Linked DNA regions of Homo sapiens: all the other regions are linked to region 2. The links are contacts of gene promoters, found by promoter capture Hi-C in blood cells and fetal thymus (Javierre and others, 2016). All regions are on one chromosome and are shown on one strand. The core of a region is centred on a gene start or on the middle of the fragment in contact, and the rest is flanking DNA. Distances in the headings are between cores, read along the strand shown. Region 1 holds the start of GCKR (glucokinase regulator). Region 2 holds the start of CCDC121 (coiled-coil domain containing 121). Region 3 overlaps PPM1G (protein phosphatase, Mg2+/Mn2+ dependent 1G). Region 4 overlaps NRBP1 (nuclear receptor binding protein 1). Region 5 overlaps IFT172 (intraflagellar transport 172). Region 6 overlaps IFT172 (intraflagellar transport 172).

Region 1 (3,957 bases), core at 1,455-3,954, 130 kb before region 2:
CTGCAGGGAGATGAGGGGAGAGGAGGACAGCCTCACCCCAGTGCCAGGCCACAAGGCTCAACCAGAGACTCTTCAACATCCAAGCACTCCGGGGGAGTAGCGTGAAAAGGGCAGCCTGAGCCAGGATACGCCAGCTTCCAGATCCCCCCCACTTAAGTGAAGAAATGTGCCGAAATCCAAGGACACAGGTTGGGGGAGCAGAAGGGTGATTCATACTTGCTGGGAAATGGAGTAGCCAATGACGATGTTGCCTTCTGGGACGTCCCAGGACACAGTGGCCGAGTTGGCTCTGAGGTGAGTGACCGTCACATTCACAGGAGAGGGAGGCCGGTCTGCGGGAGCCAGGGTGTTTAACAGGTTTCACCCATTGACTAGCTGTGGTTGACCCTCAGCCCCGTTCCCCTTTACTTACCTGCTCGCACGAAGCCCAGGTCACAGCTGACCAGCAGGAGGACCGTGGGGCTTAGATATGGGGAAAGGGGCACCAGCGAAGCCATGTCCCCACGGAGTCCGCTGGGGGGGGAACTGTGGCATCCGCTTGGCATCCGCTTGACATCCAGGCGGGGCTCCTGGAGATGGCAGGAGTTGTGGGGGGTCAAGGACTGCCCAGAACGCACGGAGGTCGGGGGGCAGCAGCTCTCCTGGGCTCCCCACAGCTCACAACAGCCCTATTTTCTCTACGCCCTCCCGCCCCCGCATTGCCCGGGCGGCCCCAGAGTGCGGTCCGCCCTGCCCACACCCACCTCCGCCGGTCCTCGCGGTTGGTCAGGCCTCGGGGGGCTGCTCGGTGCCCAGAGGGCGGCCCATCGCCCGACTCGGTGGCGCTGCCCCTACCCCATCCCGGCGCGGGCCCGGCGACGCGGGCAGCGCGGGGCCGAGCTGCGGGCGGAGCGGGCGCGGGTCTGCGGAGCCCCCAGGGCTCGAGCGGGCCACGGAGTCTGTCCGGGAGCAGGGGGCGTTGCCCGGACGCTGGCCTGGGTCCCCGGTGCGGGAGGCAGTGCGGCGGCCTCCGCCCGCCCCTGCAGCGGGATGTGACCGTCCCGGAGAGCCAGCCGCCGCCTTCTGCAGCGCTGGCCCCGCTCGCTCCGCCGCAGCCCGGCCGGGACGCGCGGGCCCGCCCCGCCCAGCCGGGGTTCTCGCCGCCGTCATTCCCCTCCCGCCCCCTCACTCCCGTCCTCTCGGGGCTCCTCCCACGACCCTCCCAATGGCGCCTCCGGAGCCCCCATCCCTTATCCCTTCTCTCTCCCAGCTGAAGCGGACGAGTCGGCGGGGGCGTGGGGGGTGAGACGCGGGTGCTAGGGTCTCCGGCACCTGGGAGATCCCCTTCCTCCCCGCGTGGAAGAGCCAAGTTGGGAAGAGGAATTCCACCTCCAGTGCCCGAGGGGCTAACAGGAGAGGGGAGAGAGTGAGGGAGATAATAATTGCTTTAACAATCCCTTACTTGTAGACTGCGTCAGCTTTTAAGTCTCTTTTCCATTCATAATCTCATTTAATTCCGTTCGCTTTCTCATTCATTCTTTCATTTATTCACCAAATATTTATTGAGCATCTCCTATGTGTCTGGCATTATATTAAAACCTGGAGATACAGTGATTGTTAAGAGTGTTGGGCTTCTCGGGAGAATCAAAGCGCAAAGACCTATGGCTTTTTTAAAAAAATTATTATTCCTTTCTTTTCTTTTTTTGTTTTTCTAAAGCTCTACCACTTACGGTGTGGTTTTGGAGAAACTGGTTTATCTGTGCTTCAGGTTTCCCACCTGTAAAGCAAAGCGTGTGAAATCTCACAGGGTTGTTGTGAGGCTCAAATGAGACGGGAAAGATCTTTATAAATCTCACAACACTATGTGACTGGATGATGGAGATTAATTTGCACCAATCTGTTAGTTACTTCTTTGTTCAATAACATGTAAGCCCTTACATTATATCATGCTTTGGTTGAGCTTGAAATCTGAATTGAGAACCTGGGTGTGAGTCCCAATTTGTCCAGCTGTGTGATCTTAAGCAACCAACTAAACTACTCTGAGCCTGTTTCATCATCTGAAAAATGAGGGTGTCAATATTGACCAACATCTTAGTGTTGGTGTATCCAATGAGATACTGTCTGTGAAAAGTGTGTTGTTCAGTGTAAATAAATGTTGGCTAACATTGTATTTAGGGCAGATTCTTTGGTTTCTAATTCTCAATGCAGTATTTCTGTTTCTGTGGGATTTTTCCCGCTGTAATATCCAGTACAGTGTGTGCACACTTGGGGCTCAGAAGCTTCTACTGCCTTCCTTTCTGAGAGGAGAGGATAAAATGGGACCAGTGGGACTGACTGTGTGTGCTGAGCATGTGATCAAGCCATGGGCCAGGTCCTCTGACTTGTGCTGACTTGGTGACCCTGATCTCTGGCCTCGGAGGACACTTGCCCAGGGATTCTCACTGCCGTGGGTGTTGTCCTGCACTCCCAGGCTCCAGGTCCTCTGTAGAAGAGGGCATTGTCCCGGTAGGGCAAGAGTCCCGAGCCTCAGGTCTTCCTCTTCAGGGGCCAAAGCAGAGGCTGGCGAGTCAGGGTGCTTGCAAAGAGGAAGCCCAGGAGTTTCCCTGGGGTTACCAGAGGGCTGGGGGCCTAGTGACCAGGAAAGGGTGGTGCTCTGAGAGCCCAGGGTGCTTGGGTTAATCATCACTGGGGCTCAGATAAGGCCCTGCCAACTGGAAGCAGAGTCATTGTGACCAGAGGGGTTTGTGTGGCTGAAGAGGCAGGAGGAACAGTGTATCCACAGCGTGGGACCATGCCAGGCACAAAACGGTTTCAACATGTCATTGAGACCCCGGAGCCTGGCAAGTGGGAGGTGAGACCCCTTCTTCATGTTGGCTTTCTGTGCTGATTCCTAGAATTATTTTTCATCCAGTCTTCCCTCCCCGCTGGTTTCTGCTCACCTCTTCTTCCTTCCTGATGTTCTTTCCCTAATATGCCCAGAGCACCAAGTGCAGGCTGAGTTTCTGGTGTGGTATGTGTGTGCGTGTGTGTAAGTCCAAACTCTGTGCCTGCTGCCACTCCCACCTCCAGCTCAGCAGGCATGAATGAGGCTTTGGCTTCCTGCTCCATCCTTGTCCCCTCTTCCTTCTAGTTGTCTGGGTACGAGGCAGCTGTGCCAATCACGGAGAAGTCAAACCCACTGACCCAGGATCTAGACAAAGCAGATGCTGAGAACATTGTTCGACTGCTAGGGCAATGTGATGCTGAGATCTTCCAGGAGGAGGGGCAAGCCCTGTCCACATACCAGGTAACCAAGACCCAAGACCTGGACCCTGGAAATAAACATGCCAACCCCAACCCCACCTCTGCTCTCCCTCACCATGGCTCCTAATATCGGAAACCCTGAGACCCCCTCCCCCATTCATCGTCCTCCTTTTCTTGGCTTCTCATTCCTGCATATTCCCTACAGAGACTCTACAGCGAATCCATTCTGACCACCATGGTACAGGTGGCTGGGAAAGTTCAGGAAGTGCTGAAGGTACTAACCTTCCTTCTGTTCCCTGCCTAAACTTTTCTGTTTCCCTCTTTCTCTTTTTACTGTCTCTATTTCTCACTTTGATAGATCTCATTCTCCTTTCTCCCTTTTGGAGATCCTCCCTTTTGGATCCTTATTTTCATCTTATTAATAAATAATAATGATAACTTCTCTGCTTAATACTTTATAATTGACAATCTACTTTCACACCTATTACCCTCACAAAAGCCTGTGAAGTTGATATGACTTCTGTTTGTTTTCCTCAGATGAAAAAACAAAGATTTAGAAAGGATAATCACTGTAGCTTGCTCAAATACACTGAGCTAATAATTGCTGGATAATGCTGCTTTTATTATTTACTTTTATTTAGATGACAAAGCTGCTTTCAGTTCTTTCTGGGAGAAGTAAGGATTTGAACAAGTAGTGGAGCAAGACATGGGAGTCAAACTGGTTTCTCTAATCCA
Region 2 (4,031 bases), core at 1,193-3,692:
TATTTGGAATGCTATCCTTAAAGGTACTTTCTCTATAAAGAAATACAATTTAGCTAGATGAAATAAATCACAACTGTTTTCACTTCCTTAGGTTGGTTTCCTTTAGCTAGTTTGATGTATGGTAAATGGCTAGGTTAGGGTCATGTGTTAGGTTAACTGGAGGTTTGTGGAATAGCTTATTAACGAGTATTTAAAGAAAAAGCTAGTTAAGGGAAGCTGGTTACCAAATATCTAGTAGGACTGTTGGATAAAACCATCTAATCCTTCACTCCAACACATCATGATGGAGATTTTACAATAGCAATCTGGAATCCAACAGCCTTTCTAACCAGGTTAATGTAGCACTTAAGAGTACTTGCTCCAGTTCTTATTTAATCAGTGTTATTTTAGAAGTTACTTTGGATTAATCCTTGATTTGGTGCCTTGGGGAAGACTGGGTGTGGTCTTTGGAACATCCTGTCTATTTAGGCACTGATTATGACTTCCTTGCAGTCTCTGCCTCGCCTGGATTAAGGACTCCAGATACCACTGTTCCTGCTGCAGCTGCTGCTTCCTGTTTTCTAAGTGGCTTTGAGTAGCCGTTAGTTTCTGGGCTTGCTCAATTAGCTGCAGTAATTCCTTCTTGAACTGCTGGTTCTCTCTGTTGATGCCACAGGAGTATTCAAAAATAAACCGCTTTGCTGCCAACTTCAAGGCCTGGGCCTTCATATTAAGCTCTCTTCTTTTTCTCTTTCCCAGTAGCCTCCTGTCTGGCTCGCTCAGTTGTTTCTCCAGTAATCTTTTCTCCTGGAGGAGCTGGGCCTGTACTTCCCGTGTCTTTGAAGCTGTCTCAGCTTGGACTTTCTTTGTCTCCTCCTGTAATGTCTGTATTTCTTTCTCCTGCTTTTCCTTTAATATAGCAATGTCCCTCATTGCCTGCAACTTCCGCTTCAAACTGGATTGGATATTTTCCTTTTGCAAGAGCGCTGTTTTAAGCACTGAAATTTGTTCTGCATATCTGGAGGCTGATTCTTGTCTTCTTCGTTCAATCTCTCCACTTTTTTGTAAATAGCTGTTCCATACCTTCTCAGGTTGCTCTGTGTACTCTTCAGTTTTGTTAGTCAGGTATTCCAGAAAGAATCTGTTTTCAGCCTGGACAAGTAACTTTTCTCGGTGTAGCTCCCTGGATTCCTCCAGTAGCTGTTTCCGCTGGGTTTGAGCTTGTTTTATATGCTTGTTCAGATCCGTCATTTCCGCCACTATCTTTTCTTTAAGCCTTGTCTCTACCTTTGTTAGCTTCTCTGGCTTGACAAAATTATTTATTAGACTATGATACGGTGGAAGGAGCCTTCTGGGGCCCTCAGCAAACCTGAAAGAACAAACGAGACATTCCTCTGTCAGTTAATGAAACTTTAGGAAGTAAGTGCACAACTGTCCTTCATTCATACAAGAGAATATTTCTGAGCACCAGAATGTTCCAGACATTATGCAAGGTGTGGGGAATCCAGCTAGTGGTAAAGGATGAGGAATGTAGCTCGTCATTTACAACGTGCATTCACTACAACCCTGGGAGGTATTACCTCAGTTTTAAAAAAGGAGAAAACAGGTTCAGAGAGTTTAAGTGACTTGCCCATGACTCACACCACTAGCAAGTGGCAGAGCCTGGGTATTAAAGCCAGATCTTATGACTTACTGAACACTGTTTGCAGCTACAAAGGGTCACAGAAACAGACTGGGTGGTCAGGAGTAGAAATAATTTTCTAGGCTCTTTCATCATCTTTCCTGAGTTTCTGAGGGACCTTCAGTGACTGGAGGGGAGGAAGCTCCCCTCCAGTACCTACTTGCACCTGGAATCCAAGCATTCATCCTGAAGGTCACGGCAACTGTGTAGTTCACTGAGGGTGACTGCCAAGGAATGAGCGCTAGCATCAGGAACCTGCGTCTGCAACTCGCGGGAACAATGTGCAAGTGTGGAAAGCTCCCGTAGTTTATTCGTTCGGTGCTCAAAGGGTCTCGGTGCTGCCCAGCAACCCTGGAGACTGCACCCTGCTCCAGTCCCGGCTGGTCCAGCCCTGAACTGTTTAACCGCCTCGGCTACCGAATAAGCCCGAGCAGCCGGTCCTCCAGTGGCTCCGCTCCCCGTTCTCTGTGGGCTCAAAATGACAGGCATGCTCCTCGTTTTCTTGCTGTGTGAGCCCTGCCCTCGGGACCCCATCTCTTCTGGCCTTCCTCCGGGAGACAAAAGCCCTCCCAGGCTGCAGAGATCAGCGCCCTTTTCCTAGCTCCCTTCAGCCTTCCTCTCGCTTGCTCAGCGCCCCCACTTCCTCGCCACTGTCACTAGTTGACTCATCAGCCCTGCCCGACGCTAAGAAGATGCCCTGGCAACCGCCGCGCCCCTCACCCGCTCCTTTCTGACGCTGTGGTGGTTTTCGTTCGCAGCCCAGAACATTGCGGAAGTTTCTCTACCCATGCGGTGTCTCTATGGTCGGGTGGGTGGGGCCAGGAGGAAGATGGCGGCGTCCGCAGCTGCCGCTGAGCTCCAGGCTTCTGGGGGTCCGCGGCACCCAGTGTGTCTGTTGGTGTTGGGAATGGCGGGATCCGGGAAAACCACTTTTGTACAGGTGACGTACACAGCATGGGTGTAGTAGGGGAGCGCAAAAGGTTGCCTCCGGCAGGCGGAAGGCCAGGAAGAAAGGGAGGGAAGAGGATTTGGAGGGTACCGGCGCATGGCTTTCGGGGGCTTCCCATCAACTTTAGTTCCTTCCCCGGCAAAGCCTCCTCGGGCCCTAGCCAGGTTAATTAAGGCTCTCTTCTGCGCACCTTCAGGGCATACTCGGTCCAGCTTACCACGTTGTACAGGAATTGTCTTGCTGATAAAATTGCGTTTCTCGGAGGCAAGTTACAAGTAACTTTAAAGATTAATACAGTGCTAGCACACAGGTTTTGGTGAAGATTTGCCAAATATTTCTTGCACGCCTGTCATGTTCCATTCACTGGGGATATAGCGAAAATGAGGTTGACAAGATTCATTCGTGGGGCCAAATATTTAATGGAGGAGATAGAGAAAACCCACATACGAAGAATCAAAACAAGTAAACAAGTGACTACGAGTAGGGGAAGCTTTGTTAGATGGGTGATGAAGAAAGGTAGCATTTGAACTGAGAGTTGTATCTTGGAGGTGGACATGGTGGATATTTCAGGTAGAAGAAAATCTAAGTGCAATATTCTTAAGGCATGGGTGTTAAAGGAATGGAAGTTCTCTCTTGTCCCCTCTTTGTCTCCTTCCAACCCTCTCCCCATATCTCTGCAGAGGCTCACAGGACACCTGCATGCCCAAGGCACTCCACCGTATGTGATCAACCTGGATCCAGCAGTACATGAAGTTCCCTTTCCTGCCAATATTGGTGAGTAAACCAGTAACATAACTTGTGTGCAGTGCTTTAAAGAGAATGGAAAAGGCCAGGCGTGGTGGCTCACGGCTGTAATCTCAGCACTTTGGGAGGCCGAGGCAGGTAGATCACGAGGTCAGGAGTTCAAGACCAGCCTGGCCAAGATGGTGAAACTCCATCTCTACTAAAAATACAAAAAATTAGCCAGGCACGGTGGCAGGCACCTGTAATTCCAGCTACTCGGGAGGCTGAGGCAGGAGAGTTGCTTGAACCCGGGTGGCAGAGGTTGCAGTGAGCCAAGATCGTGCCACTGCACTCCAGCCTGGTCAATAGAGTGAGACTCTGTAAAGCCTCCAGCCTGCCAGTCTTCAGTGCCTTCTTTTTTCATGTTTTCTAAACTATCTACTTTCATTTCCTTTGGATTTGCTTGCATTCCTAAACAGCTTAGGTTTTTTTTTTTTTTTTTTTTTTTTTAGACAGAGTCTCTGTCACCCAGGCCAGAGTGCAGTGGCGTGATTCACAGGTCACTGCAGCCTCAACATCCCAGGCTCAAGTGATCCTCCCACCTCAGCCTCCTGCCGCTATGCTGGGCTAGTTTTGTTTTGTTTGGAGAGACAAGGCCTCTCTATGTTGCCCAGGCTGGTCTTGAACTCCTGGGCTCAA
Region 3 (4,119 bases), core at 1,199-3,698, 230 kb before region 2:
AGACACAAAAATCCTCAACAAAATAGTAGCAAACTAAATCCAGCACCATATAAAAGGATAATACACATTGATCAAATAAGACTTATACACCAAAAAAATGCAAGGTTGGTTTAACATTCAAAAAAATCACTTAATGCAATATAGCGTATCGGTAGACTAAAGAACAAAACCCTATGATCATCACAATAGGTATTATAAAGGCACTTGACAAAATTCAGTGCTCATTAATGATAAAAAGACTCAATGCCAGTCTGGGCAACATAGTAATAAGACCCTGTCTCTATAAAAAATTTTAAAAAATTAGCCCAGTATGGTGGTGCATGCATGTAATCCCAGCTACTAAGAAGGCTGAGGCAGGCGGATCTCTTGAACCTAGGAGTTCAAGGCTGCAGTGAGCTATGATTGAGCCACTGTGCTACAGCCTGAGGGACAGAGCAAGACTGTCTCTAAAAAAGTAATATAAAATAGACTCAACAACCTAGGAATAAAAGGGAACTTCCTAAACCTGATAGAGTACATCTATGAAAAACTCAGTCAGCCAGGCACGGTGGCTCATGCCTGTAATACTCCCCCAGTTGATCTACAGATTCTGCATAACCCCTATAGAAACCCAGGTGCCTTTTGTGCAGAAATTGACAAATTAATCCTAAAATTTAGATGAAAAACAAATTTTAAAAACATTTCAAAACGTACTAAAAAGCTACAGTAACCAAGATAGTGTATTACTGGCATAGGGACATGTAGACCAATGAAATGGACTTGAGAGTTCAGAAATAAAACCCTCACATTTACGGTCAATTTATCTCTGACAATGATGCCAAGATAATTCAATGGGGGAAAAGAACAGTGGTTTAAACAAATAGTGCTGGGACAACTTGATATCCACACACAAAAGAATGAAGTTGGATCACTCCCTCATACCATTCACAAAAATTCACTCAAAATGGATCACAGAAACAGCTAAAACTATAAAACTCTTAGAAGAAAACCTAAGAGAAAATTCTCGTGACTTTGGGTTAGGCAAAGCTTCTTAACAAAAACAAACAAACAAAATAGACAAATTGGACTTTATCAAAAGTAAAAACTTTTGTTTCAAAAGACACCATCAAGAAAGCAAAAAGAGGCTGAGTGTGGTGGCTCACGTCTGTAATCCTAGCACTTTGGGAGGCCCAGGCGGACGGATCACGAGGTCAAGAGATCGAGACTATCCTGGCCAACATGGTGAAACCCCGTCTCTACTAAAAATACAAAAATTAGCTGCGCATGGTGGCATGTGCCTATAGTCCTAGCTACTCGGGAGGCTGAGGCAGGAGAATGGCTTGAACCCGGGAGGCAGAGGTTGCAGTGAGCCGAGATCATGCCACTGCACTCCAGCCTGGCAACAGAGCGAGACTCCGTCTCAAAAAAAAAAAGAAAAAAAAAGAAAGAAAGCCAGCAAAAAGAATCAGGGTGTAGTGGCTCATGACTGTAATCCCAGCACTTTGGGAGGCTGAGGCAGGCAGATCACCTGAGGTCAGTAGTTCAAGACCAGCCTGGCCAACATGGTGAAACCCGGTCTCTACTAAAAATAAAAAATTAGCTGGGAGTGGTGGCACACACCTGGGTCCCAGCTACTCGGGAGGCTGAAGCAGGATAGCTTGAACTCAGGAGGCAGAGGTTGCAGTGAACCAAGATCGCGCCACTCCATTCCAGCCTGGGTGGTCAGAGCAAGACTGTCCCCCGACCAAAACAACAACAACAACAACAACAACAAAAACAAAACAAAAAAAGAAAGCAAAAGTCCACAAAAATTGGAGAAAAGATTTGCAAATCATATATCTAACAAACTTGTATCCAAAACACATAAAGAACTCTTACACATCAAAAGACAAAAAGACAATCCAATTAAAAATGGACAAAGACTTTGAACAGACATTTCTCCAAAGAAGATACACAAATGTCCAATAAGCACATAAAAGATGTTCAAACATAAGGCCTGGCATGGTGGCTCTAGCCTGTAATCCAGCACTTTGGGAGGCCCAGGGAGGCGGATCCTTTGAGGTCAGGAGTTCGACACCAGCCTGAACAACATGGTAATGCCCTGTCTCTACTAGAAATACAAAAAATTAGCTGGGTGTGGTGGCATGTGCCTGTAATCCCAGCTGCTAGGGAGGCTGAGGCAGGAGAATCGCTTGAATCTGGACAGAGTGAGATTCTGTCTCAAACAAAAAGTTCAAACATCATTAGCCATTTAGCCATCAGAGAAATACAAATCAAAACTACAATGAGATACCATCTCACACCCACCATTAGTTATTATAAAAAAGGTGGATAAGTGTAGTGAACATGTGAAGGAACTGGCATCCTCATATATTGCTGGCAGGAATGTACGACGGTACAGCAACTTTGGAAAACAGTTTAGCAGTTTCTCAAAATGTTAAACACGTAGTTACCATATGACCCAGCACTTCCACTCTTTGGTATATAACCAAGAGATATGAGGACATATTTCCACACAAAAATTTGTACATAGTATCACTATTTATAATAGCAAAAAAAAAAAAAAAAAGTGGAAATCCAAAATGTCTATCAACTAATGAATGGATAAACAAAATGTGACAAATCCATACCATGGAATATTATTCAACCATAAAAAAGAACGAAACACTGATTGATTCATGACACAACATTGATGACCCTTAAAAATATTACGCTTGGCCGGGCGTGGTGGTTCATGCCTGTAATCCCAGCACTTTGGGAGGCCGAGGCAGGCGGATTGCCTGAGCTCAGGAGTTCGAGACCGCCCTGGGCAACACAGCGAAATCTCGTCTCTACTAAAATACACACAAAAAATTTAGCCGGGTGTGATGGTGGGTACCTGTAGTCCCAGCTACTCGGGAGGCTGAGGCAGGAGAATCGCTTTAACCCAGAAGGTGGAGGTTGCAGTGAGCTGAGATCGCATCACTGCACTCCAGCCTGGGCGACAGAGGGAGACCCTGTCCCCAAAAATAAAAAATTAAAATTAAAAAATTATGCTTAGGCACAACTATGATACATCAACTGAAAAATATCAGGCTGGGTGTGGTGACTCATGCCTGTAATTCCAGCACTTTGGGAGGCTGAGGTGAAAAGATTCCTTGAGGCCAGGGGTTCAAGGCCAGCCTGGACAACACAGTAAGACCCTGTCTCCATGAAAATAAATGAATAAACAACAATAATTAAAACTGACCTCCTGGAGATAAGAAAAAGAGTTAACTAGGAGATAAGAGAAAATTCAAGAATTGTTAAGTCATTAATTTGAGATGGAGTTCTGGGTCTTTTGCTTCCCTTCCATCAACTAAGTGAGGAAGGTTCCAACAGAAACAAATGGGAGTGCCTAAAAGAAAACTAGCATCTCTTTCCTGGTTACACAGGCAACAGACTTGGTGATCTGCCTGAGCTCTGTCTATCTGAACAGAAGGAGAGAATTTTAAAAAGTGCCCACTGGAGCCTGAACCATCCTGCTGGTATCCATCCAAAGGAGTCCAGCAGTATGAGGTCAAGGATACACAGCAGGTGGTAAAAGCCACAGAAAAGTCTAAAAACCAAAAGTGGAGATCAAGTCCCTCTGGGCCAGGCCTGGCTATTGCTGCAAACACAGAGATGGTGAGTGATAACTGGATATGAGACTGGAGTTTTAAAGAGATTTCTGATTCTATTAAGCTCTGTAAAATAAAACCTGCAAGGCACTGATCTAGAAAGAAGCAAAAGAACCTTGGGTCAGCAAAATACTTATTCTTAAATCTACTACAACAATGTATGTGTGATTTTTTTAAAAAGAAACTTACAGGCAAAGCTGAGGGGTAGAGGGAATACTTGGGGTGGAGAGTAATTTACTCTTCCAGGGGCCAACAAGCTTTAAAGTCAATTTCAAAAATACACATGCTTAGTAAAAGCATCCAGATATAAAAGGTAGTGTATTTAGAATTCCATTTATAAAATGTTCAGAATAGGCAAATTCATAGAGGTCATGTAAATTAGTGGATGCCAGGGGTTAGTGGACGGAAGATAGGGAGTGACTGGTAAAGAGTACAGGGTTTCTTTTTGGGGTTCTAAAACTGATTGTGGTGACAGTTGTACAACTCTGTTTGAATACACTAC
Region 4 (4,000 bases), core at 794-3,293, 190 kb before region 2:
ATTAGGATTATTAAATCTTTTTTTTTGTTTGTTTGTTTTTTGTTGAGACAGGGTCTCCCTCTGTTGCCTAGCCAATGGCATGATCATAGCTCACTGCAGCCTCAAACTCCTGGGCAATCAAGTGATTCTCCCATCAGCCTCTCGGGTAGCTGGGACTATAGCTGTGTACCACCTTGCCCTGCTAATTTTTAAATTTTTTTGTAAAGATGGGGTCTCACTTTGTTGCCCAGGCTGGTCTCAAACACCTGGCCTCAAATGAACCTCTTGCCTCGGCTTCTCAAAGTGCTGGGATTACAGAGGTGAGCCACTGTGCTCAGCTGGATTACTAAATTTTTTTTTGAGATGGGGTCTTGCTCTGTCACCCAGGCTGGAGTGCAGTGGCGTGATCTCAGCTCACTGCAACCTCCACCTCCCTGGTTCAAAAAAATTCTCCTGCCTTAGTCTCCTGAGTAGCTAGGACTACAGGCACGCGTCACCACACCCAGCTAATTTTGTATTTTTAGTAGAGATGGGGTTTCACCATGTTGATCAGGCTGGTCTTGAACTCCTGACCTCAGGTGATCTGCCCACCTCAGCCTCCCAAAGTGCTGGGATTACAGGCATGAGCCACCACGTCCAGCCTGGATTACTAAATCTTTACAGATGTATCCTGACTTTCTCTGCCTTTTCCCTCTGTATTTGCCCCAACCAGTGCAGGCCTGAGTGTTCCTTCCAGCATGTCGGAGGGGGAGTCCCAGACAGTACTTAGCAGTGGCTCAGACCCAAAGGTAGAATCCTCATCTTCAGCTCCTGGCCTGACATCAGTGTCACCTCCTGTGACCTCCACAACCTCAGCTGCTTCCCCAGAGGAAGAAGAAGAAAGTGAAGATGAGTCTGAGATTTTGGAAGAGTCGCCCTGTGGGCGCTGGCAGAAGAGGCGAGAAGAGGTAAGGTTATGGTACAGTTACTCTTGGGTGAGTGAATTCTGGAAAGGTGAGAACTGGAAGAGCAAAGTCTTAAAAGAGGCCAACCAAACTTCAATAGGTTGGGGGCTAGGAGGAGATGATCATATGGAGTGTTAAAATGGAGGATTTGTGAGATAAGTTTAATTCTCTTTCATATGAATTTCTTCTCAGGTGAATCAACGGAATGTACCAGGTATTGACAGTGCATACCTGGCCATGGATACAGAGGAAGGTGTAGAGGTTGTGTGGAATGAGGTACAGTTCTCTGAACGCAAGAACTACAAGCTGCAGGAGGTAGGTGATGCTGAAAAGGTGAAGCCTGGGGAATGTTGGAACACTGATGTTAGAGAGGAATTGGTGTTGGGAAGCTGCCCGTGAGGAGAGTATGTTGGGGTTAGATCGTTTCTGGGGAGGGATAGGGAATGGCTTCTCAGGATTATTACAGTGATTTGTGACTCTGTTATTCCACTGTCTCCCTTGCTTTCAGGAAAAGGTTCGTGCTGTGTTTGATAATCTGATTCAATTGGAGCATCTTAACATTGTTAAGTTTCACAAATATTGGGCTGACATTAAAGAGAACAAGGCCAGGGTAAGAATTTTTTCCCCATATTTCCTGAACTTATTGCAAAGAGACTAGCTACATTTATTATTGTTCCTTTTACACTCAGAGATTAAAACAAGGTAGTTTTGAAACAGAACTGGAATCAGCTGCAATGGCGATAAGAGTAGGGCTTCAGTTGTCACCTATGCCTTTTGTGTGGCTATAGATTGGGCAGAAAATGAGTGAACTTTTGCTTCTTTCTTCCCATAACTTTCATTGCTTGTTTTCATTGCCCTATTTAGTCTAAGTAAGTAAAGCTAAGAACAAAAGGAGAGAAATTTTAACAAACCTTCAAATTTAAAATATGTTAACAAGGGAAGGGATCATTTCTACTATAAGGCCTTTTAGTAAGTGCTTTGCCTCCCCAGGTCATTTTTATCACAGAATACATGTCATCTGGGAGTCTGAAGCAATTTCTGAAGAAGACCAAAAAGAACCACAAGACGATGAATGAAAAGGTATAGAAGGAGAGCAGACAAAGTTTGAGGCTGGTTTTTGGGGGTGGTTTTAAAAAGGACTCTGTTAATAATGAAGCTGATCAGGAAGGGACGGAAGGAGCTAGTGGGAGAGAGTTAAGAGAGGGAATTACTGCTGACCCTTGGATCCAACTTTGTTCCAGGCATGGAAGCGTTGGTGCACACAAATCCTCTCTGCCCTAAGGTAAGTAGTACCTGGTTAGTTTCTTACCCATATTTCCTGATGTAGTTACTCCAAACAGATTTCAGGGCACTACTCTTCTGTTCTATTCTGCCTCTCCCCACTTTCTTTGAATCATATACTGTCAAGATTAGGGCCCCTACGGGTCTTTTAAAGGGTGCGTCCTAATGCCCTAACCACGACACTTATCTCCTACCTCTTTCTCCTAGTGCTTATCCAGCTATTTAAATCATCAGGCATAATGGAGATTCAGAGTGTGGGGATTATCTTTATGGTGACCAGCAGGAGACCTGGCCCTTGCTCCTCTTAACCCTTGGGTTCCCCCTGCCCTTAATTTCCCAGTGGCCCCTCTAACAGCCCAGTGCCCCCACAGCTACCTGCACTCCTGTGACCCCCCCATCATCCATGGGAACCTGACCTGTGACACCATCTTCATCCAGCACAACGGACTCATCAAGATTGGCTCTGGTGAGGGGAGGGAGAGGTTCTGGGCAGGGGAGCCTCGGGAATTTGGGAACCATGGGGGTAAGATGAAAGGAATGGGGGATAACAGAGCAAAATTCTGAGGTGTGGGCTGGTGAGAAGAGAAAGGACCTTGCTAGGAGTAATTAATAGGAGAGGCCAGTTAATTAGTGGAGAGGGGGTAGGATATATAATCTTACACCTTTTTGAAGGGAAAATTGGGGTTAATACAGAGATACTGATAAGAGGCTGGGAAAGGGCAAGAGATAGGTTTGAGGTTTGATTTGAGTCCTGGGGCCAGACCCTGCCAGAGGAGGTTCCAGGCTGTTCCTGCTGTGAGTGCTTTCGTTTGCTGTGTATTGTATGCAGTGTACAACATTTCTGTGTGCTGTGTCTGTGTGGTATTTGTGTGTCCATTTGTCTGGGGCTTGGCTGCTCCATCGCTCACAACTTTTCTCTGTTTTCCTCCCTCCCGCTTACGGGCTGCTCTGTTCCCAACAGTCTTTCATAGGATTTTTGCTAATGGTGAGAGCTCCCTCTGCCCCACTTGGGGCTCTGTTTGTGCTCCCTCTGCTCCCTTGGCGGCTGCCCAGTGCATGCAGTCGTGGGAGCAAACCCTCTTCCCCTATCTTCCCTGCCTAATTATGCCTGCTTAGCTTCTGCCCTGCCAGCCCTCCGCCTGCTTGCCCCTTCATAACCTGCTTGTTTCCTGTGGATTCTGCCTGGCTGGCCACTTACCTCCTGGATTCATGTTCTCCCTCATCATCAGGCTAGTTCCCAGATCATACTGTGCTCCCAGATTCTCTGTGACTTGTAGTCATTGTTTATGATCTGAGTGAGTCCAAATTGGGCCTGGTCCTGGTTCCTCGTTCAGCTCTGTGGCAGACAGTGTTGAGGAATAAGGGGGTAGAACAGGAGTCTAAAATGTTTTGGTGGATTAAAAGTGGAACAGATTCAAGGGTATTAGCTCAATTCTGAGCTGTTTTGAGTTTCACTCAGCAAAGGTGGGTAAGAAGGAGGCTACCTCCTGAGCTGTATGTTAATACTTCTTATCCTTATTTATCCAAGTTCCTGAGGTCTCCAATTGTCCCAGATTAGGAAGGGCTGCCTGTGTTTTTATGTTATTTGCAGGGTGGATGAAAAAACTAAAACCAAATATTTTCATGTGAGCAGGGATTAGAGGTACCTGGGATTTAGGGAAGGTGAACGCAGTACAAGTGAAAATTTTTCCTTAAACTTCATTGCTTCTAGACCAGCCTGAAGCCCCTGTGTATCTGTTAATTTAGTCTGGTGCTTTTGTTGCTCCTGATTTAGGGACATTAGATGAGAAGCAGTA
Region 5 (3,971 bases), core at 367-2,866, 160 kb before region 2:
CAAAAAACAAAAAACAGAAACAAAAAACTTCTAAATAATATTCTTCAGGAAGAAGAAAAGTCATTCCAGAGGGAAGATTAGCATTGCAAGAAAAGGTAAACAAAGGAACTGGTACCTTGATGGTAAATCTAAATGAATCCTGTCTTATAAAATAATCAGGCAGGGCGTGGTGGCTCATGCCTGTAATCCCAGCACTTTGGGAGGCCAAGGCGGGTGGATCACCTAAGGTCAGGAATTCGAGATCAGTCTGGCCAACATGGCGAAACCTCATCTCTACTAAAAATACAAAAATTAGCTGGGCATGGTGACAGGTACCTGTAATCCCAGCTACTTGGGATGCTGAGGCAGGAGACTCTCTTGAATCCAGGAGACAGAGGTTGCAGTGAGCCGAGATGACGCCACTGCACTCCAGCCTGGGTGACAGAGAGACTCTGTCTCAAATAAAATAAAATAATCATGCCTAACTTTGGAGACAAAATAAGATTAGAACTAAAATACTGGACAACAATGACAAAGGGGAGGAGATGAAAGTTAAAGTCTTGTATTGTTTGCAGGGGAGTGGTTAGATGCTGATTAACTTTAGACTTTGTTCATTTAACTACATGTTAAACTTTCAAGGTAACCTCTACAGAAACAGGACATATAACTTTCAAACCCAAAATGTGGAGAAAAAAAAAAGGTGCTTAAAGAAATTAAACACAAAATTAGCTGGACATGGTGGCATGCACCTGTAGTCCTAGCTGTACAGGGGGCTGAGGCAGGAGGATTGGCTGAGCCCAGGAGGCTGAGCTGCAATGAGCTATGACTGTATCACTGCACTCCAGCCTGGGAGATAGTGGGAGACCCTGTCTCAGAAAGAAGAGAGAGAAAGAGAGAGAGAAAAAAAAAAGAGAGGAAGAAAGAGTAAAAGAGAGAAGGAGAGAAAGAGAAAGAAAAAGAAAGAAAGAACTAAACAAATAAATTTTAGACCCTAATCAGTTTAAAATGAGGTAAAAAGGAGATTTTAAAAAGGTATGGAAAAGGACAAAAAGAAAGCATCAAGCGCTCTACCCATACACACACACTCCTAGCCTAGCACAGGAGCCTGCCTCTCGTTTTCTCTGGCTCCTCCCAGATTTTGGAAGACTACTGGGTATGTATGATGTTGTGGTAGGACAGGAGAGAAGAGCTGATCTGTAATTTGAGAAAAAAAGGCACTTTGAATGGCTTATAACGGAGAATCAGCATAGAAGGAGATGACATTAGAACTGCCTCTCCTATCAGGGATCTTCCAGCCTACAGGGATCTCCATATTATGACCTGGTGACTTCCCGGGGCCACTGTAATGAACCCATACTCCAAGGGTCTAATATAATGTCAGGAATCTGAAAAAGGATGGTTCTGGGGGCTGGTCCATAAGTCTAAGCTTTATTTGCCAATTCTATCACAGAGATTAAGGGTGGTGGACACAGAAAACCAAGTAGCCTTCAGAGTCTCCTCATGGCTCTAATTAATCAGCTCAATACCACATCTGAGGGCCCCTAGTGTCCAACATACCCTAATAGTGAACATGGTGACTCTCTCAGGTGCCTCAATGTTGTACCATACACACAGACTGTTTCGGTTCTGAGCTACCAGCACGTCACTTCCTGGGACCCACTGCATATAGGAGCAGAAGTTGAGGATCATTGTCTTAGAGCAGCTTTCAATATCATACAGATGCAACTGAAGAAAGAAAAGGCAGGTAACACAATTACAAGGGGATGTGGGGTTGTCTCCTGCTTTTGACCATTTTCCTAATGGTGAGATGTGGTGAGCTAACCCACCACTCAGGTTCATGCTGCATTTCAAAGCTTACTGACCTGCTTTCTGCTGAGCTGGTATATCCTAACTCTGGTCAAGTAAGAGATGACCCATAGAACAAAGATCTACATCCCAGGAATTTTAAGTTAGGTGAAGGTCAGACTTTCCTTCTTGAAATAACTCTGGGCCAGAGTTACCAGCTTGGATTACAAATGGCAGGCCACTAGAAAAATTAAATTATCCAGAAATTTGTGATGTGGCTTTCACTGAAATGAAAAGTCATCAGGTTGTCTCTTTGATCTGAGGTTGAAGACTCTGGTGCTACCATATTGGGATGAGAATCAATGAGGGACGAAGAGGCTGTCCTCCAGCCAGTTCATGCTATCAGATAAGTGTGGCTGAAAAGCACTGGACAGCAGGTCTAGGTGAAGGTCAGCTAGGCATGAGGAGGAGGAATGCAGGGTTAAGGAAGTTTCCTGAGGGCACAGACTGTGAATAGTAAGAGACACCAACTTCCAAACTCCCTTCTTGACTTTGTTGCCATAATACAATCACCTCTGAGGTCATACAGGATTGCTGGGCGCATGGCTCAACACCTGTAATCCCAGCACTTTGAGAGGCAGAGGCAGGCAGATCACCTGAGGCCAGGAGGTCAGGAGTTCGAGACCAGCCTGGCCAACATGGTGAAAACCCATCTCTACTAAAAATACAAAAATTATCTAGGTGTGGTGGCACGTGCCTGTAGTCCCAGCTACTGGGGAGGCTGAGGCAGGAGAATCACTTGAACCCGGGAGGCAGAAGTTGCAGTGAGCCCAGATTGTACCACTGCACTCCAGCCTGGGTGACAGAGTGAGACACTGTCTCCAAAAAAAAAAAAAAAGAGGTAATAAAGGATGGGTTTTGCTATCAGTTTTGGTATCAGCTACAGAGAATGTTGATTCTTCTGTGCCTTCTGCCATGTTGATGACACAGCAAAGACAATGTGCTCCATCCTGCCTCCCTCAGTCCCTGGTGGCAGCTTGTCTCACACCCTCTGTGGGCCAGCCAATGCCTAAGGCCTTAGTAGCTCTTCTCACACGAAGTTTCCGGTCCCTGAAGAGGAGCTTGTGTCCAGTCTCATTAAGTTCCAGCCAATCCACACGGCTCTCATGGCTGACGGTGCCAATGTTGTAGCCACCAATCAGATCCACTATAGAATAAAGGAGACAGGGTTAAGAAGAGAGATTCCACACATATACATAGTATGGCCAACACACATAATTTTGCTAGGATGCCTAGGAAGCTAGGTCTCTTTTAGAATTGTAGAGGTTTTGTTTAACTATGTTGTTAACTCAAAAGGTCCAGACCCACAGAAATGTCATCACTCTCTGGGGCTTATGGAGTTACCTCAGAGCAGACTAGAACTATTGAGCAAGTGGCTTCTCCTACTCACAGAATCCCCTCGAAGGCAGCACTGAGCACATTAAAGATAAGCCTGATACAATACAGCAGTGAGACAAGGCTGATGAATCAATGACCTTGATGGTCATATGCTCTAAGAAGTCACCCGTATATTTGAATGCCTACTGTGTAAGAGCACTGCAAGGGTGGATGGTGGGGAAGGCAACAGACAAACCTCTGACTAAAGTTAGGCTGGTCACTGCAGAGGATGAATATTTTAGTTTGGTTTGAATCTTCTAGACATTATCAGAAACTATCACATTTAGAGCAGACCAATTAGGGTTGGCTGGGATGGTTTCAGGGGGTCTCTTGATCAAAGCCTATTTATAAGTTTTAGTGATATCCATTATTAATGAACAATGGGCCCCACTTTGTTATATATGCTTAAGCTAAAGACCAAATGTCCACTGGTGTCCATAATTGTGAAGACCAATTTAAAAAACAATCTTCCTTTAATTAAAAAGTAAAATCGGCAGGGCATGGTGGCTCATGCCTGTAATCTCAGCACTTTGGGAAGCCAAGGTGGGCAGATCACCTGAGGTCAGGAGTTGGAGACCAGCCTGGCCAACATGGTGAAACCCTGTCTCTACTAAAAATACAAAAAAAATTAGCTGGGCGTGGTGGCTGGCACCTGTAGTCCCAGCTACTCGGGAGGCTGAGGCGGGAGAATGGCGTGAACCCGGGAGGCAGAGCTTGCAGTGAGCTGAGATCGCGCCACTTCACTCCAGCCTGGATGACAGAGCAAGACT
Region 6 (2,700 bases), core at 151-2,650, 180 kb before region 2:
TCATAAGTAAAATCTTCGTAGCAGAGTACAGAGAAAGGACTCCTAAAATAAGGAGTCCAGGGCATTCTGTAACTATTTGTGTTGGGCTTTTATGAACTTGTTTCTTCATTCACACACACTGGATTTTGAAGATTTAGTATAAAAAAAGAATGGAAAATATCTAAATAATGTGTGTGAGTACATGTTGAAATGGTAGTATTTTATTTAATTTTTTTAAGACAGAGTCTTGCTATGTCGCCCAGGCTGGAGTGCAGTGGCACAATATCAGCTCACTGCAACCTCTCCCTCCCAGGTTCAAGCAATTCTCTTGTCTTGGCCTCCTGAGTAGCTGGGATTACAGGCACCCACCACCATGCCCAGCTAATTTTTGTATTTTTAGTAGAGATGGGGTTTCACCATGTTGGCCAGGCTGGTCTCAAACTCCTGATCCTCAAGTGATCTGCCCACCGTGGCCTCCCAAAGTTCTGGGATTACAGGCATGTACCACTGCGCCCAGATGAAATGGTGTATTTTAGATATACTGTGTTAAATAAAATATATTACAATTATTTTTACCTGTTTTTTTTTTTTTTTACTCTTTTTAAATGTGGCTACTAGAAAATTTAAATGACATGTATGGCTTACATTTGTGGCCTGCATTATATTTCTAGTGCCAGTGCTGGTATAGATGGTCTTGATGATAACCTTTCAACACTTAAAACTCAGAAATTCTACAAACCCAAGTGTTCAATGAGATCACTCTGTTTCCATTATGATGCTGACATCCTTACCAGATTTCAATTTCCACACAATCCAATTTCACTGTAGTTTATGCTAATCCCCTCTGGTCTTTCCCTCACCTGTTCTTGCCTCCCTTTCTTACTGCCAAGCCCTTCAAAGCTTAATCTGCCCTGTCTGCATCAGGAAGCCATTTTCTGACTAATCTGAAAAAGGTACAGTCATGCCATGCTCCCAAGTTACATATATCAGATGCTTATTCAATACTGCTGATTAAAATCTGCTAGAACCTCAAAACCAATCATCAGCCCCTCTCTTTCTACTTCTCTCCCTCTAACTTCTAGGGGTTATTGAGTTTTAAGACCTCAAAAGGCCAGGCACGGTGGCTCACGCCTGTAATCCCAGCACTTTGGGAGGCCAAGGCTTGTGGATCATGAGGTCAGGAGATGGAGACCATCCTGGCTAACACGGTGAAACCCCGTCTCTACTAAAAAAATACAAAAAAATTAGCCCGGCATGATGGTGGGCACCTGTAGTCCCAGCTACTCAGGAGGCTGTGGCAGGAGAATGGCCTAAACCCAGGAGGCGGAGCTTGCAGTGAGCCGAGATTGCACCACTGCACTCCAGCCTGGGCGACAGAGCAAGACTCCGTCTCAAAAAACAAACAAACAAAATAAACAAACAAACAAAAAAACCTCAAAACCTAAGGGAAATTTTGCAGGGGCATCACCATACGAATATGTCATTTAGAGGGCCAATCTCACCCCCCTCATGACCCCCACTCACATTTCACTGTATCTAAGGTGCGTCATTTAAACTATACCTGCATCCCAATTTTAAATATATTAAAATATAATTATATATATGTATGTGTGTGTGTATATATATATATATATATGTTATTGTTAACTTTATGTATCAATTTGGGCTACAGGGTATCCGGGTATTTGGTCAAACATTATTCTGGGTGTTTCTATAAGTGTTTTTGGATGAGGTTAACATTTAAATTGGTAGACTGAGTAAAGCAAATTGCCCTCTCTACTGTGGATAGACCTCATCCAATCATTTCAAGGCATGAACAGAACATAAAGGCTGGCTCCTTCCCAAGTTAGAGAGAATTCTTCCTGTTTGACTGCCTTTAAACTGGGACACTGGCTTTTTCCTGCCTTCAGATTTGAACTGAAACATCAGCTCTTCTTGGGTCTCAAGCTTGCTGGCCTTCAAACAAGAACTACACCATCAGTTCTCCTGGGTTTTCAGTTTGCCAGCTCACCTGCAGATCTTGGGCCTTGTCTATCTCCATAACTGCATGAGCCAATTCCTTTTAATAAATCTCTTTATATACATGTACACACATATACCTACAGTCATGCATTGTCTAATGATCAGTATGTTCTGAGAAATGTGTCCTTAGGGGATTTCATCATTATGTAAGCATCATAGCACAAACCTAGATGGTATAGTCTACTATACACCTAGGTAGAGGTTGCGTAGAGCTTATTGCTCCTAGGCCACAAACCTGTACAGCACATTTCTGTACTGACTACCTATAGGCAACCATAACACAATGGTAAGCATTTGTGTATTGAAACCTATTTAAGGCCAGGCGTGGGATCACCTCAAGGGATCCACCCACCTCAGCTTCCCAAAGTGCTAGAATTATAGGCGTGAGCCACCATGCCCACCCATGTGGTCTACTGTTGACCAAAACGTTGTTATATGGCATATGACTGTATATATCCTGTTGGTTTCTCCAATACAGTATGTCTTATTATTTGTGACACATACTGGCCTGGCTTAATTTGCTGGAAGCTTCTTTTCAGGAAATGTTGGGTGGGGGAGGTGGAGCCCATGCTTTTTTCATGTTCCCTGTCTGGCCAGTTCCTGTGCCTGGAGTTGCCCTTCCAGCTCCTGTCCAAGTCTTCCCTCCTTCTTCACAGAGCCTTCCTGACCCCTCTAGCCCACAGAGATCTCACTGTTCTC

Evidence for each region. The method cuts DNA at HindIII sites, captures the fragments that hold promoters and counts their contacts. A CHiCAGO score of 5 or more calls a contact.
Region 1: the fragment with the promoter of GCKR here is called in contact with the fragment with the promoter of CCDC121 in region 2 in 2 of 17 cell types (endothelial precursors and megakaryocytes); the score reaches 14.4 in endothelial precursors.
Region 3: a fragment that was not itself captured here is called in contact with the fragment with the promoter of CCDC121 in region 2 in 3 of 17 cell types (megakaryocytes, endothelial precursors and erythroblasts); the score reaches 10.9 in megakaryocytes.
Region 4: a fragment that was not itself captured here is called in contact with the fragment with the promoter of CCDC121 in region 2 in 2 of 17 cell types (endothelial precursors and megakaryocytes); the score reaches 5.4 in endothelial precursors.
Region 5: a contact is called between a fragment that was not itself captured here and the fragment with the promoter of CCDC121 in region 2, in 1 of 17 cell types (endothelial precursors). The highest score is 10.0, in endothelial precursors.
Region 6: a contact is called between a fragment that was not itself captured here and the fragment with the promoter of CCDC121 in region 2, in 1 of 17 cell types (endothelial precursors). The highest score is 9.2, in endothelial precursors.

Annotation. Positions count from the first base shown.
Region 1 is chr2:27,494,135-27,498,091 of GRCh38, forward strand. It overlaps GCKR (glucokinase regulator), which reads left to right and starts at 2,705. Exons shown (of 19, transcript NM_001486.4): 1 at 2,705-2,830; 2 at 3,110-3,265; 3 at 3,428-3,496. The coding sequence starts at 2,771. It overlaps FNDC4 (fibronectin type III domain containing 4), which reads right to left and starts at 1,066. Exons shown (of 7, transcript NM_022823.3): 1 at 744-1,066; 2 at 413-569; 3 at 217-332. The coding sequence starts at 545. The HindIII fragment of the contact is 4,981 bases long and covers 2,257-3,957 here.
Region 2 is chr2:27,626,570-27,630,600 of GRCh38, forward strand. CCDC121 (coiled-coil domain containing 121) reads right to left here and starts at 2,443. Exons shown (of 2, transcript NM_024584.5): 1 at 2,381-2,443; 2 at 1-1,348. The coding sequence starts at 1,230. The coding sequence ends at 394. GPN1 (GPN-loop GTPase 1) reads left to right here and starts at 2,481. Exons shown (of 14, transcript NM_007266.4): 1 at 2,481-2,600; 2 at 3,290-3,383. The coding sequence starts at 2,490. RefSeq lists a silencer at 1,413-1,707 and enhancers at 2,156-2,215, 2,276-2,585, 2,626-2,725. The HindIII fragment of the contact is 4,758 bases long and covers 1-3,097 here.
Region 3 is chr2:27,397,420-27,401,538 of GRCh38, forward strand. The region is part of intron 1 of PPM1G (protein phosphatase, Mg2+/Mn2+ dependent 1G); the gene reads right to left. Among named protein-coding and RNA genes, the nearest start is that of PPM1G, 10 kb to the right of the region's middle. The HindIII fragment of the contact is 2,848 bases long and covers 1,025-3,872 here.
Region 4 is chr2:27,432,558-27,436,557 of GRCh38, forward strand. It overlaps NRBP1 (nuclear receptor binding protein 1), which reads left to right. Exons shown (of 18, transcript NM_013392.4): 2 at 697-926; 3 at 1,116-1,238; 4 at 1,432-1,533; 5 at 1,914-2,003; 6 at 2,165-2,205; 7 at 2,576-2,670. The coding sequence starts at 717. Among named protein-coding and RNA genes, the nearest start is that of NRBP1, 5.9 kb to the left of the region's middle. The HindIII fragment of the contact is 6,412 bases long and covers 1-4,000 here.
Region 5 is chr2:27,469,392-27,473,362 of GRCh38, forward strand. It overlaps IFT172 (intraflagellar transport 172), which reads right to left. Exons shown (of 48, transcript NM_015662.3): 15 at 2,859-2,971; 16 at 1,537-1,704. Among named protein-coding and RNA genes, the nearest start is that of IFT172, 18 kb to the right of the region's middle. The HindIII fragment of the contact is 427 bases long and covers 1,404-1,830 here.
Region 6 is chr2:27,450,394-27,453,093 of GRCh38, forward strand. The region is part of intron 35 of IFT172 (intraflagellar transport 172); the gene reads right to left. Among named protein-coding and RNA genes, the nearest start is that of KRTCAP3, 9.4 kb to the left of the region's middle. The HindIII fragment of the contact is 1,047 bases long and covers 878-1,924 here.